3 separate regions of the Homo sapiens genome follow, and regions 1 and 2 are each linked to region 3. The links are contacts of gene promoters, found by promoter capture Hi-C in human tissues and cell types (Jung and others, 2019). All regions are on one chromosome and are shown on one strand. Each heading gives the region's core, a stretch centred on a gene start or on the middle of the fragment in contact. The rest is flanking DNA. Distances are from core to core; before and after follow the strand shown.

The links. The method cuts DNA at HindIII sites, captures the fragments that hold promoters and counts their contacts. A contact is called where the count stands out against the background at its distance.
Region 1: the fragment with the promoter of NAALADL1 here is called in contact with a fragment that was not itself captured in region 3 in 1 of the 25 tissues and cell types used here (ovary).
Region 2: a contact is called between the fragment with the promoter of GSTP1 here and a fragment that was not itself captured in region 3, in 1 of the 25 tissues and cell types used here (psoas muscle).

What each region holds. Positions count from the first base shown.
Region 1 is chr11:65,057,038-65,061,117 of GRCh38, reverse strand. NAALADL1 (N-acetylated alpha-linked acidic dipeptidase like 1) reads left to right here and starts at 2,565. Exons shown (of 18, transcript NM_005468.3): 1 at 2,565-2,781; 2 at 2,868-3,040; 3 at 3,122-3,243; 4 at 3,625-3,747. The coding sequence starts at 2,597. It also overlaps a transcript of CDCA5 not described here. The HindIII fragment of the contact is 22,908 bases long and covers 1-4,080 here.
Region 2 is chr11:67,581,768-67,585,632 of GRCh38, reverse strand. GSTP1 (glutathione S-transferase pi 1) reads right to left here and starts at 1,821. Exons shown (of 7, transcript NM_000852.4): 1 at 1,789-1,821; 2 at 1,464-1,499; 3 at 1,063-1,169; 4 at 861-948; 5 at 392-495. The coding sequence starts at 1,789. RefSeq lists silencers at 1,442-1,591, 1,909-2,051, 1,602-2,221. The HindIII fragment of the contact is 9,062 bases long and covers 1-3,865 here.
Region 3 is chr11:66,340,634-66,344,646 of GRCh38, reverse strand. BRMS1 (BRMS1 transcriptional repressor and anoikis regulator) reads left to right here. Exons shown (of 10, transcript NM_015399.4): 2 at 2,406-2,551; 3 at 3,024-3,114; 4 at 3,314-3,441; 5 at 3,601-3,680; 6 at 3,777-3,873. The coding sequence starts at 2,413. Among named protein-coding and RNA genes, the nearest start is that of BRMS1, 2.5 kb to the left of the region's middle. The HindIII fragment of the contact is 3,306 bases long and covers 1-2,933 here.

The sequences.
Region 1 (4,080 bases), core at 1,316-3,815, 1.3 Mb after region 3:
GAAGCAGAAAGTGAGTCAGAAGTAACCAGAATGGTGTTTTCCCAGTGGATGTGACCAAAGCAGAGAGGATTGGGGGTTAAGAGGGCTTCCAGGGCCTCAAACTGGGCAAGGTGAGTACACGTGGGAGGTGAAGGAGGGTGGGACGGAGGCAAGTGTGTGGGGCAGGTGGAGAGTGGGGAGGGAGCCAGCAGCAGTGCATTGCTGGTCCTGGAGGATTGAAGACCCCTTGGACCCAGAGCCATTGGGAGAATAAGGCAGGAAAATGAAAGGTGTTCATGTGCTCTAACTACCGTAAGTTATTTCTAGGAACTCCCACAATCCAGAATGTTCTGGGAGGGGCCATACCACCCACACAGCAAAGATGAAGGAAAGAAAATTGACTAAGTTAACGTCTGGTGCCTACAGCCATGTAGACACCAGTGGATTCCAACAGCCTGAGTGGATCTCTTGGGTGTCACACACACAGCTGTTTACACACTCTCCAACACAAACCACAGTCCCAGGTGTTATCACTCAGATGTCACACACTTTTGTCCAGGCGTCCTGTTTGTGACTTCACATGATTGAGGGGTTAAATCCTTCCAGGAGTGGGTGGGGTAGGACCATGGGGTTGCTGCCTCAGTCCCTCAACTTATCAGCTGACCTTGGCATCCCACTCCCCACCTGGTGGTGACTGTCCTGTGTCCTCATAAGGAAGGTGTATGCTCCCTGCACCGATGGGCTTCTGATAAGATCCAAGGTCATATTCTGGGCGTCGATAATCACGTTGCCAAGAACTGTGGCTTCCTGGTGCACCTCCCTGAAGTCACTGATCACATGACATCCCTTCCCAGCCACCCCTAGTCCTCCCATGCTGAACCTCCTCACCAGCAGCACAAGAGATGGTGGTGCCAGCAAAATGGGGTTGTGAGCAGGAAGGAGGCTGCTCTGAGAGGGGTCTGTGAAATCACACACACACACATGCACGTGCACACACACACACACACACACACACGCTCTGCCCTGATCCAGCCCCCAAGCTCTGCAGGCATCTTTGAGCCCATCCATGGGCTGCAACCTGCGAGGCAGAGTCAAGGCAGGATAGGCCATGGGAGGGTGGGAGAAGTCCCAGCTCAAGTCCCTAGGGACCCCCCCAGCCCCTCCTGGCTCTCCGTGAGGTCTGGAAGAGGCTCAGTATGTGTATGGCATACTTGGGGTCTCACTTCCCTCTCAGCCCTTGCAAATGCTGGAACACCTTTTCAGCCTTGGAGGACCCCCTCAGATGTTCCCTCCTAGTCAGAACTCCTCACTCTTTCACTGGGAGCATGGTGATCCTCCCTCTACAGGGCACTTACCACATGGCTGAACCTAAAGCCTGTCTGCCTCGCCTGCTGGATTTTGCTTCCCCACAGCCTTGCATGGCTCTAGTATAGCACAGAATGAACAGTGCTTGCATGTATAAAGGAAGGAATGAATAAGTGAATGGAGGGATGGGTGGATGGATAAATAGGAGGGTGGATGACGGAGTCCAGGCAGAGCCAGGGGATAGAAGAGGAAGTCACCTCGCCAGGGAGGCATGGGCTTCCCCTGCTGCCTCCTCTGGGACAGCCTCCCTTCCCAGGACTCCCATTCCTCGTATCGCTGGGCTCCCTTCAGGATAGACACAGAGAGTTCTTCTGGGTCCTCCTTCTTCCTTTAGCTCTAGGCCTTACATTTTCCAGAGTCAGATGAGGGATGAGTAGTTAAAATTGATGAGCTCCCACTACATGTCAGACACTGCACTAGCTATTTCTACAGATGCCATATTGTTTAATGAAAATGACACCATAGCCGGCACGGTGGCTCACTCCTGTCATCCCAGCACTTTGGGAGGCTGAGGCGGGTGATCACCTGAGATCAGGAGTTTGAGACCAGCCTGGCCAACATGGTGAAACCCCATCTCTACTAAAAATACAAAAATTAGCTGGACATGGTGGTGCACACCCGTAATCCCAGCTACTCGGGAGGCCGATGCAGGAGAATCACTTGAGCCCGGGAGGTGGAGGTTGCAGTGAGCCGAGATCACACCACTGGACTCCAGCCTGGGTGTCAGTGGAAGACACAGTCTAGAAAAAAAAAAAAGAAAACAGGTGTAGAGAAGCTGAGTGGATTGCCCAAGGTCACACAGCTTACGTCCAGCAAGAAGGGGGATCTCAACTCAAAATCTGCTCAGGCAGGTAGGGCTGGGTATGCTGTAGATCGGCTGCCTTGGAGGGAGGCAGAGGCAGTGAGGGTGGGCAGTGGGCACGGCCCTGCTGTGAACACAGGAGCTCTGAGTTCCAGCCCTGGCTTGGCCTCTGTTTTCCTGGGACACCCTGGATGAGCCCCTTCCCTCTCGGCTTCAGTGTCCCTGGGTGACCTTGCTGCCCTTGGAGAGCCATTCCAGGCAAATGGTGCAGGATGTGGTGGATGTGGATGGCTCCTGGCTCTCACTGCGGGATGTTCCCTCACTCTCCCTGCCAGCTGGGGGTCAAAGGGCAGTGCCACCCATGGGGTAATGTTTAACCAGGCACAACACCCCCTCTATAGGGAATAACCTATAGACCAGTCCTACCCCAGCTGGCCAAGAGTCCGCAGGATGCAGTGGACGAAGGTGTTGGGGCTGGGGCTGGGGGCTGCTGCCCTCTTGGGGCTGGGGATCATCCTCGGCCACTTTGCCATCCCCAAAAAAGCCAACTCACTGGCCCCCCAGGACCTGGACCTGGAGATCCTGGAGACCGTCATGGGGCAGCTGGATGCCCACAGGATCCGGGAGAACCTCAGGTGAGAAGTGGGGCCATCTGCTCCTCCGTTTGCCAGAGGCCCCCTCCCTGATGCTGGCCCTGCCCCTCCCTCTGCCCACCCTGCAGAGAACTCTCCAGGGAGCCACACCTGGCCTCCAGCCCTCGGGATGAGGACCTGGTGCAGCTGCTGCTGCAGCGCTGGAAGGACCCAGAGTCAGGCCTGGACTCGGCCGAGGCCTCCACGTACGAAGTGCTGCTGTCCTTCCCTAGCCAGGAGCAGCCCAACGTCGTGGACATCGGTGAGGTCCTGCCCAGTCTTGGGAATGCCCGGGGGTGGGGAGCTGCTGGGCCCAGCCATGATACTGCCACCCCTCCAACAGTGGGCCCCACTGGGGGCATCATCCACTCCTGCCACCGGACTGAGGAGAACGTGACCGGGGAGCAAGGGGGGCCAGATGTGGTACAACCCTATGCTGCCTATGCTCCTTCTGGAACCCCACAGGTGGGCCCAGAACCCCCCCTACTGCTCTGGCCCAGCTCCCTTGGTTCCACCCAGGGTTCTCCCCACCCTGACCCAGGGAACGTGCCTCAACTGGGGCACAGCGCGCCCTCCGGAATTTACTCACCGGGACACTCCATCGCTGCTCCTTTCCTCCATCAGTCATTCAACAAACACTAGTGGCTCTGCTCAAGGCCAGGTCTGTTACAGGGCACCCAGACATGGAGGAAATGAGGGGTGACTGTTCTTGGGGAGCTTACAAGCTCTGGGTGAGGTGGGGGAACAGAATCTAAATTCTCCCTCCTGCCATGCAAACTTCCACCCCCCTTCCCCACCCACACTTCGCTGGGCCCAGCTCTAAGGATCACCCCCTCTTGGGACTAGGGCCTCCTCGTCTATGCCAACCGGGGCGCGGAAGAAGACTTTAAGGAGCTACAGACTCAGGGCATCAAACTTGAAGGCACCATTGCCCTGACTCGATATGGGGGTGTAGGGCGTGGGGCCAAGGTGAGTGGCAGTCCCCCAGTGCAGGAGGCCTCGGTGAGGAAGGGGCTGGGCAGTGGACTGGAGGAAGTGAGGGGAAGGGGAAGGAGAAGAGGCAGTGTTGAGTGGGGAACCAAGCCCCAGGGTGGGGCAGGAAAGGCAAGGTGTTTTCGGGTTGTCCCACCAATGGGCTGTGTGGCCTCGGATGCCTCCCTGACCCTCTCTGAGCTGTAGGAAATAAAGGGGTTGAGTACAATTTTCAGGTTTGGTATTCCAGAAGTCTAAGTCCTCCTGTGAAATAGTTTTGAATATTCAACTTAAGTCCCTCCTGTTGGCCCTCTCCCTGCCATTTCTTTT
Region 2 (3,865 bases), core at 572-3,071, 1.2 Mb before region 3:
TCCCCAAATGTGCTCTGTGTCTGCATATTTTCCTCAGCTAAAAGTGCCAGCACCTCCATCCAGAAACTGGCGACAAATCCTCCTCCACCTCTGGCTACTCCAGGAAGCCCTCGCCACCCCAGGAGATCAGAAACCACCAGTTGCTGGAGGTCTCTGTCCTTGCACTCGCCCCCATGACCCGTTACTTGGCTGGTTGATGTCCCAGGCAATAAGGGTGCAGGTTGTGTCTTGTCCCAGGCCCCTGGGCCCCTGGCCCAGAGCTGACCCAGCCCCTGCACCCTGACCCAAGAAGGGGTCAGCCCAAGCCACCTGAGGGGTAAGGGGGGTGAGGGCACAAGAAGCCCCTTTCTTTGTTCAGCCCCCAGTGCCCAACCCTGGTGCAGATGCTCACATAGTTGGTGTAGATGAGGGAGATGTATTTGCAGCGGAGGTCCTCCACGCCGTCATTCACCATGTCCACCAGGGCTGCCTCCTGCTGGTCCTTCCCATAGAGCCCTGGGGTTGGGTGGAGGGGAGCAGGCCGCGTGACTGGGCGCCTGATCAACACACAGTCACTGGGGATGGGCCAACCAGGGGGCTGTCTGTGAGCCCCAGCCTGGGAGGAGGGGAAGAGGATGTGCGTGGAAGGATGAGAGACTGCCACACAGCAGGTGCTCAGAGCTCACCTGACACCTGGGAGGCAGCCTGGCACAGGGCAAGGATTGCAGGCACCCAGGCTTGACCTTGGGCAAACTACGTAACCTCAGTGGGTCTCAGTTTCCTCCACTCCAGAGGGCTGCGGGGCAGCTGATTTAAACAAAAGGGCTCCGGGGGCAGAGGCTTGCCCATGCCTGCCCTGGACTTGGAGGTTCAAGACTCACCAAGGGTGCGGCCCAGGTGACGCAGGATGGTATTGGACTGGTACAGGGTGAGGTCTCCGTCCTGGAACTTGGGGAGCTGCCCGTATAGCTGTTGGGGGAGGCATGGCTCAGGGAGGGGCACTGAGCTTGGGCGTCCCCCGATCCTAGTCACAGCCCCCTAAGGCCCAGCACCCCCTCCCCTTGCCCGGGCATGGTCACTTACGCAGGAGGCTTTGAGTGAGCCCTCCTGCCACGTCTCCACGGTCACCACCTCCTCCTTCCAGCTCTGGCCCTGATCTGCCAGCAGCATGCGCAGGGCCGCGCAGCGGCCTGCGGGGAGGGAGAAGTACGAGATGTGGGGACCGGGCCGACTCCGCCTCGCAGCAACCCGGGGAGGGGTCAGGAGTGCAGGGAGGGAACAGGGAAACAGGTTCCTCCGAAGATTTCACACAACACTGGGGCGGGGAGCAGGCATGGCGGGAGAGGCGGGGAACAGGAAGGAGGCCCGGGGTAAAAGCCACACGACGGAGGGATAAGGGGGTTCGGATCTCTCCGGGTGGGCGAGGGGCTGTGGGCTGCAGCCCCAGCCCCTGCCTCCCTTCCCTGCCAGACACATGCTCCTACCTCGAACTGGGAAATAGACCACGGTGTAGGGCGGCACTGCAGCGAACAAAGAAAAGTTTGCTGGAGCCCGGGGGAGGATGCCAAGGCGCGGTGAGCGCAGTCTGCCCCCCCTCCCCGCCCCCGGGGTCCCATCCCTCCCCGAGGCGCTCCGGGCCCCCTGAAAGCCGCTAACGGCACTGGGGACGTCCTGGGTCCCCTAGGCCCCCGTCCCGGGTCTCGAGGTGGGCGAGGAGCCCTGCCGGGAGCCCGGGCCTGATGCTGCGGGTTGGCCCCATGCTGGGAGCTCTGAGCCCCATCCCCGGGGACGCGGGCCGCGCGTACTCACTGGTGGCGAAGACTGCGGCGGCGAAACTCCAGCGAAGGCCTCGCGGCCTCCGAGCCTTATAAGGGTGGTCCCGCCCCGCTCCGCCCCAGTGCTGAGTCACGGCGCCGGCCGCTCTTCTGGAGGGTCCCGCGGACTCCCGCCGGCCCCAGCCCCGGCGGCCGCTGCACCCCGGGCGTCGGCCGCAGAGGGGCGCCCTGGAGTCCCCGGAGTCGCCGCGCAGCTGGCCGGGGAAGCCTTTCCCTCTTTCCCAGGTCCCCAGCGGGGCCTAGGGAGTAAACAGACAGCAGGAAGAGGACCGCAGCGAAGTGTGCGCAGCGAACTGGCGCGCCGGGACATCGCGGGGGGAAATTCCCTAAGACCGCTGCGATCCCGGAGCTTGCACACCCGCTTCACAGGGCAGGGGAGAGGGGTGGAGGCCGCTTAGAGGAAAGGAAATTGCTTTATTTTATTTTATTTTATTTTATTTTTTTATTTTATTTTATTTTATTTTATTTTATTTTATTTTATTTTATTTTATTTTATTTTGTGTTATTTTATTTTATTTTATGACGTAGTCTCACGCTGTGGCCCAGGCTGGAGTGCAGTGGCGCGATCTCGGCGGCTCACTGCAACCTCCGCCTCTCGGGTTCAAGCAATTCTGCTTCAGCCTCCCGAGTAGGTGGAATTATAGGTGCGTGCCACATCTGGCTGATTTTTGTATTTTTAGTAGAGACGGGGTTTCACCATGTTGGCCGGGCTGGTCTCGAACTCCTGACCTTAGGTGATCTGCACGCCTCGGCTTCCCAAAGTGCTGGGATTACAGGCGTGAGCCACCACGCCTGGCCGTCCAACTTTTATTTGAAGTTCTGGGGTACATGTAGAGGATGTGCAGGTTTGTTACATAGGTGTGTGCGCCATGATGGTTTGCTGTACAGATCATCCCATCACCCAGGTATTAAGCCCAGTATCCCTTAGCTATTCTTCCTGGTACTCTCCCTCCCCAGCACCCCGCTCAACAGGCACCAGTGTGTGTTGATCGCCGCCATGTGACCATGTGTTCTCATTGTTCAGCTCCCACTTATAAGTGAGACCATGCGGTCTCGCTGGTTTTCTGTTCCTGTGTGAGTTTGCTGAGGCTAACGGCTTCCAGCTCCACCCATGTCCCTGCAAAGGACATGATCACGTTCCTTTTAGTGGCTGTGCCTTAGGCTATTTTCTTTGGCTTTGCTGCCTACTTTCTGTTGATTTGCAGATCTCCATTTATTCTAGATATTGATCTCTTGTTGGCTTTAGACATGACAGACAGCTTCTCCTATTCCATCAACTGTCAAGTTTGTCCAAGGAGTCTTTCATGAAACAAAACTCGTTAATTTAAGTGTAATCAAATTCAGCAAGGGATTTTTGTGGTGGGGAAGAGGTTGGTGTTTATGTTGTATCTTTAAAACTTCATTTAATGCAGCCATTAAAAAGAACTAGATCATGTCTTTTGTGGGAACATGGATGGAGCTAGAGGCTATTATCCTTAGCAAACTAATGCAGGAACAGAAATCCAAATACTGGATGTTCTCACTTGTAAGTGGGAGCTAAATGATGAGAACTTATAACACAAACAAGGAAACAACAGACACTGTGGTTGACTCCAGGGTGCAGGATGGGAGGAAGGAGAGGAGCAGAAAAGAGAACTATTGGGTACTCGGCATAATACCTGGGTGATGAAATATTCTGTACAACAAACACCGAAGACACGAGTTTACTTATGTAACAAACCTTCACATGTACCCCCAAAACAGAAATAAAAGTTAAAAAACAAAGAAATTTCATTTAAAAGTCTTTTTTAAGAGACTTATTATCGGGGGAAATTCAGCCCCCAATATTTCACGTGGGTCCTTTCCTATTTTCCCTAAGTGTCGGCTGGCCTGAGAAATAAAGGGAAAGAGTACAAAAGAGAGACATTTTAAAGCCGGGTGTCCAGGGGAGACATCACATGTCCGCAGGTTCCGTGATGCCCCCTGAGCCGTAAAACCAGCGAGTTTTTATTAGCAATTTTCAAAGAGGAGGGAGTGCACGAACAGGGTGTGGGTCACAGAGATCACATACT
Region 3 (4,013 bases), core at 31-2,530:
ACCTGTGAGCTCCTCAACACTCAGAGCAGGAATGGTTATCCGCTTTTTGCACCCGGGGTAAGGTGGGAAGGTTGTGACTTAACTCACTCATAATCAGAACCAGGGGGAGGAAAGAAAGGCTTCTGGAAGAGATAGACTTAAGCTGCATCTTACAAAGTGAATATACTAACAGTGAAGAGGCATTGCAAATGTTGGGAACTGAGGCTTGATAACGGGAAGATGAAGCTGGTTTAGAGAACCGAGCCTTTCAAGTCAGGTGCAGGTCATTAGTGAAATTGTTGAGGAATATGACTAAACACTCACCTAGGCCAGGCTTACTATACACAACTTGAACTGGTGTCAAGGAAAGCTTGCTACCATTACAGGGACCTGGGACTACCGAAAAGTAAAAACTAATGTCTGTCTCACAAAAAATTTTTTTGTTAAATTTGTATTTGCAAATCCTCCAGTCATCAAGTGAACCAGCACTGTGCTAGGTAAATAAGTTACATGTGCAGCCCCTGCCCTAGTGAGGCTCATAGACTGATTGCGGGGACAGATATGAGAACAGGCAAATAGATATAAACAAAGCTTCCTGGAGGGAGTGGTGTCTGCACTGTTCTAAAGGACTACAAAGCAGTGTCCAGAGAAGTTGGAAGAACACAATAAAATAGAAGCCTGCAGGAGGTTGAGAGATTATCTGCTGAGAGGACTGTTTTCTTCTTCTTAGGTGATCTCTTGGCAGTACTTGGCACTATCAGTGCAATTACTCCTTGGCAGTACTTGGCTTTCTTCTAAAACTCTTTCTCCACCACTTCGGGTTTTGCCTCCTCCTTTGTAGGGGTCTCCTCATCTGCCCCTTTGGTGACCCTGGGCGTCTTCTGATCGCACACATTGTGCCTTGCTGGTTGCACCTTCTCCTGTGGCATGAAGAACTTGCTGTATGCTGACGACCAAATCCCTGCAGCTCAGATTTCTCACTGAGACTTAGACCCATGTTCCCCCAGCTGCTTTCCTTCTCTTATTTCTGGGTCTTTGCTACTGACTCTACCTGGAATGTTCCCTCAATAAGTGCAGCTCACCCAGCTGGTCCATCTTTGTCTGGAAGCCTCCCTGCTGCATCGGGCTCCAGGTCCTGGTTATATACCCCTCCCTTATGCCCCTGGTCTTAACTCTCCTCCTATCATGGTTATAGTGTGCTCCTTTGCCCCTGTCTCCCAGGAACTTGTAAACTCCGTGAGGTCAAAGACATTCACACTTGGGCGCCTGCATACCATAGCGTCTGACGGTACCTAGCATATGTTAGATGTTCAATACATGTTAGATGAGTCAGTAAAAGAAGGAATGCTTACCAGTGTTGGATGTTGCCGAGCAGACAATTAAAATAAGCACTGAAAAATATTGGCATTAGCCACAAGGAAGTCATTGGTTAATGCTACGGGATCAGTTTCAGCTGAGATTGAGGACATCGAACAAGTGGGAGGTGAAAGTAGGAACAGCCAGTGTTCATGAGACCTTGAAAAGTGTAACTGTGAAGTGGCAAATGGAGCAGTTAGGTGGAATGGGTGAGGTTTTGTGTTTCTGTGTTTTGTTAATGCTAGGAAGTACCCAAGCACATCCAAAGTTTCATGGGAAGGAGGTTGCTAAGAGTTAGAAGCTGAAGACACAGAAAAGAGAGGGGAGCACTGATGACCTGCGGTCCAAGAGGAAGCAGAAGGAGATGGGATTTGACCCAGAGCACAATGAAAGACAAGGAGATTGTAACATTATCTGGAAGAGAAGCCGAGGACATTATAGGCAGAAGGAACAGCTGAGGCAGAGGGTGGATAGTGGAAGTGCAAGCACTAGCCATTATATGTTGGGATGAAGGAGCTGGACCGGTAGGTCAAGTCCAGTCTGGGAAAGACCTTGAAAGCCCCAGTTAGAAATTTAGGTCCAGTTTGGGTGTGGTGCGGGCGCCTGTAATCTCACTACTCAGGAGGCTGAGGCAGGAGAATCGCTTGAACCCAGGAGGAGGAGGTTGCAGTGAGCTGAGATCGTGCCACTGCACTCCAGCTTGTCAACAGAGCGAGACTCTGTCTCAAAAAATAATAAGAAGAAAAGAAATTTAGGTCCAGTTGCAAAGGCAGTGGAGAGTGCCCCCTGGGCCTTTCCTTTCTGTGGATCACAGCCTTGGCCAGTATTGCTAGGATTAGGATCACCAGTGACATCCAAGAGCAGGAGCAGTTCCACAGCTCCCAGCCTTCTGTGAGAGGTGCAGATGGCCATTTGCACCCTTGTCACCCAGTTTGTGCTCAAGGTGTGGCCAGGCCAGTTACTTCCCTGGCTTTCCCCATCTGGGATCGAGTTGTGTTCAGCATCCTGCTGCCTCTTTCCCCCTCTGAGCTGTGGGCAGCCATAAGTGATAGCTCCATTCCTTCTCCCAGAGTCCAGATGCCTGTCCAGCCTCCAAGCAAAGACACAGAAGAGATGGAAGCAGAGGGTGATTCTGCTGCTGAGATGAATGGGGAGGAGGAAGAGAGTGAGGAGGAGCGGAGCGGCAGCCAGACAGAGTCAGAAGAGGAGAGCTCCGGTGAGCCCCTACACACACAGACACACACACACACACACAGAGCCCCTACACACACACATGCACACACACAGCCCCTACACACAAGCATGCACGCACATGCACATACAGCGCCTACACACAAGCACATACACAGACCCTGCACACAAGCGCACACACGCACACACAGCCCCTACACACAAGCACGCACACACAGCCCCTACACACAAGCACGTATGCACACACACAGCCCCTTCACACAAGTACACGTGCACACAGCCCCTTCACACAAGCACGCACGCATATGCACACACAGCCCCTACACACAAGCACACACGCACACACACAGCCCCTTCACACAAGCATGTACGCGCACACACACACAGGCCCTACACACAGGCATGCATGCACACACACACATGCAGGACGCACATGCACACATGCGGGTACCCACCACTCCTCCCCAGAGCTAGCCCTTACTGGCCTCTTGTCCCAGAGATGGATGATGAGGACTATGAGCGACGCCGCAGCGAGTGTGTCAGTGAGATGCTGGACCTAGAGAAGCAGTTCTCGGAGCTAAAGGAGAAGTGAGCGTGGGGACACCTTGGGCTGGGTCTGCGAGGATCTGGGATGAGGAGGTGGTGGGCCTGGTACTGGGCAGGCGTGGTTGGTGCCCAGGAAGTGCGCGCCTAACACCGGGCTTGCTGTGGAATGGGTGCTGGGTATGTGTTTGCCCAAGAGCGATGGGTGAGCAAATGGGTGCACGGCTGCCTTTTTACCACGCAGGTTGTTCAGGGAACGACTGAGTCAGCTGCGGTTGCGGCTGGAGGAAGTGGGGGCTGAGAGAGCCCCTGAATACACGGAGCCCCTTGGGGGGCTGCAGCGGAGCCTCAAGATTCGCATTCAGGTGGCAGGTCTGTGGGTGGTTCTGTACCCTCTTCCCCTCCCAGAACCCGTGGCACCCTGTCCCCTTCCTCTCTCGTTCCTGCCCGGCCTTGCCCTTTGCTCTCAGCCCTCCTATGTGGGCACCGGGCTCCCCAGCCAAGCAGGGACCCTCCTCCCTTTCTCTGCAGGGATCTACAAGGGCTTCTGTCTGGATGTGATCAGGAATAAGTACGAATGTGAGCTGCAGGGAGCCAAACAGCACCTGGAGGTGGGCCTGATTGGGCACACTGGGGGTGAGGCAGGGCACAAAGCCTGAAGTGGCCTCACCCCATCCGTCCTGCTGAGCTATTGCCCCCTCTTCCAGAGTGAGAAGCTGCTGCTCTATGACACGCTGCAGGGGGAGCTGCAGGAGCGGATCCAGAGGCTGGAGGAGGACCGCCAGAGCCTGGACCTCAGCTCTGGTAAGCGCGAGAGCCTGGGCACCCCGGAACTGGGCCCCGCTCAGTCCACGCCCACCCCTCTTTGGGCTTCAGATGTCCTGAAGTCAAGGGGACAGCCAGAGGACCTGCCTGTTGGGGTCAGTGTGAGGGCTGAAGGAGAC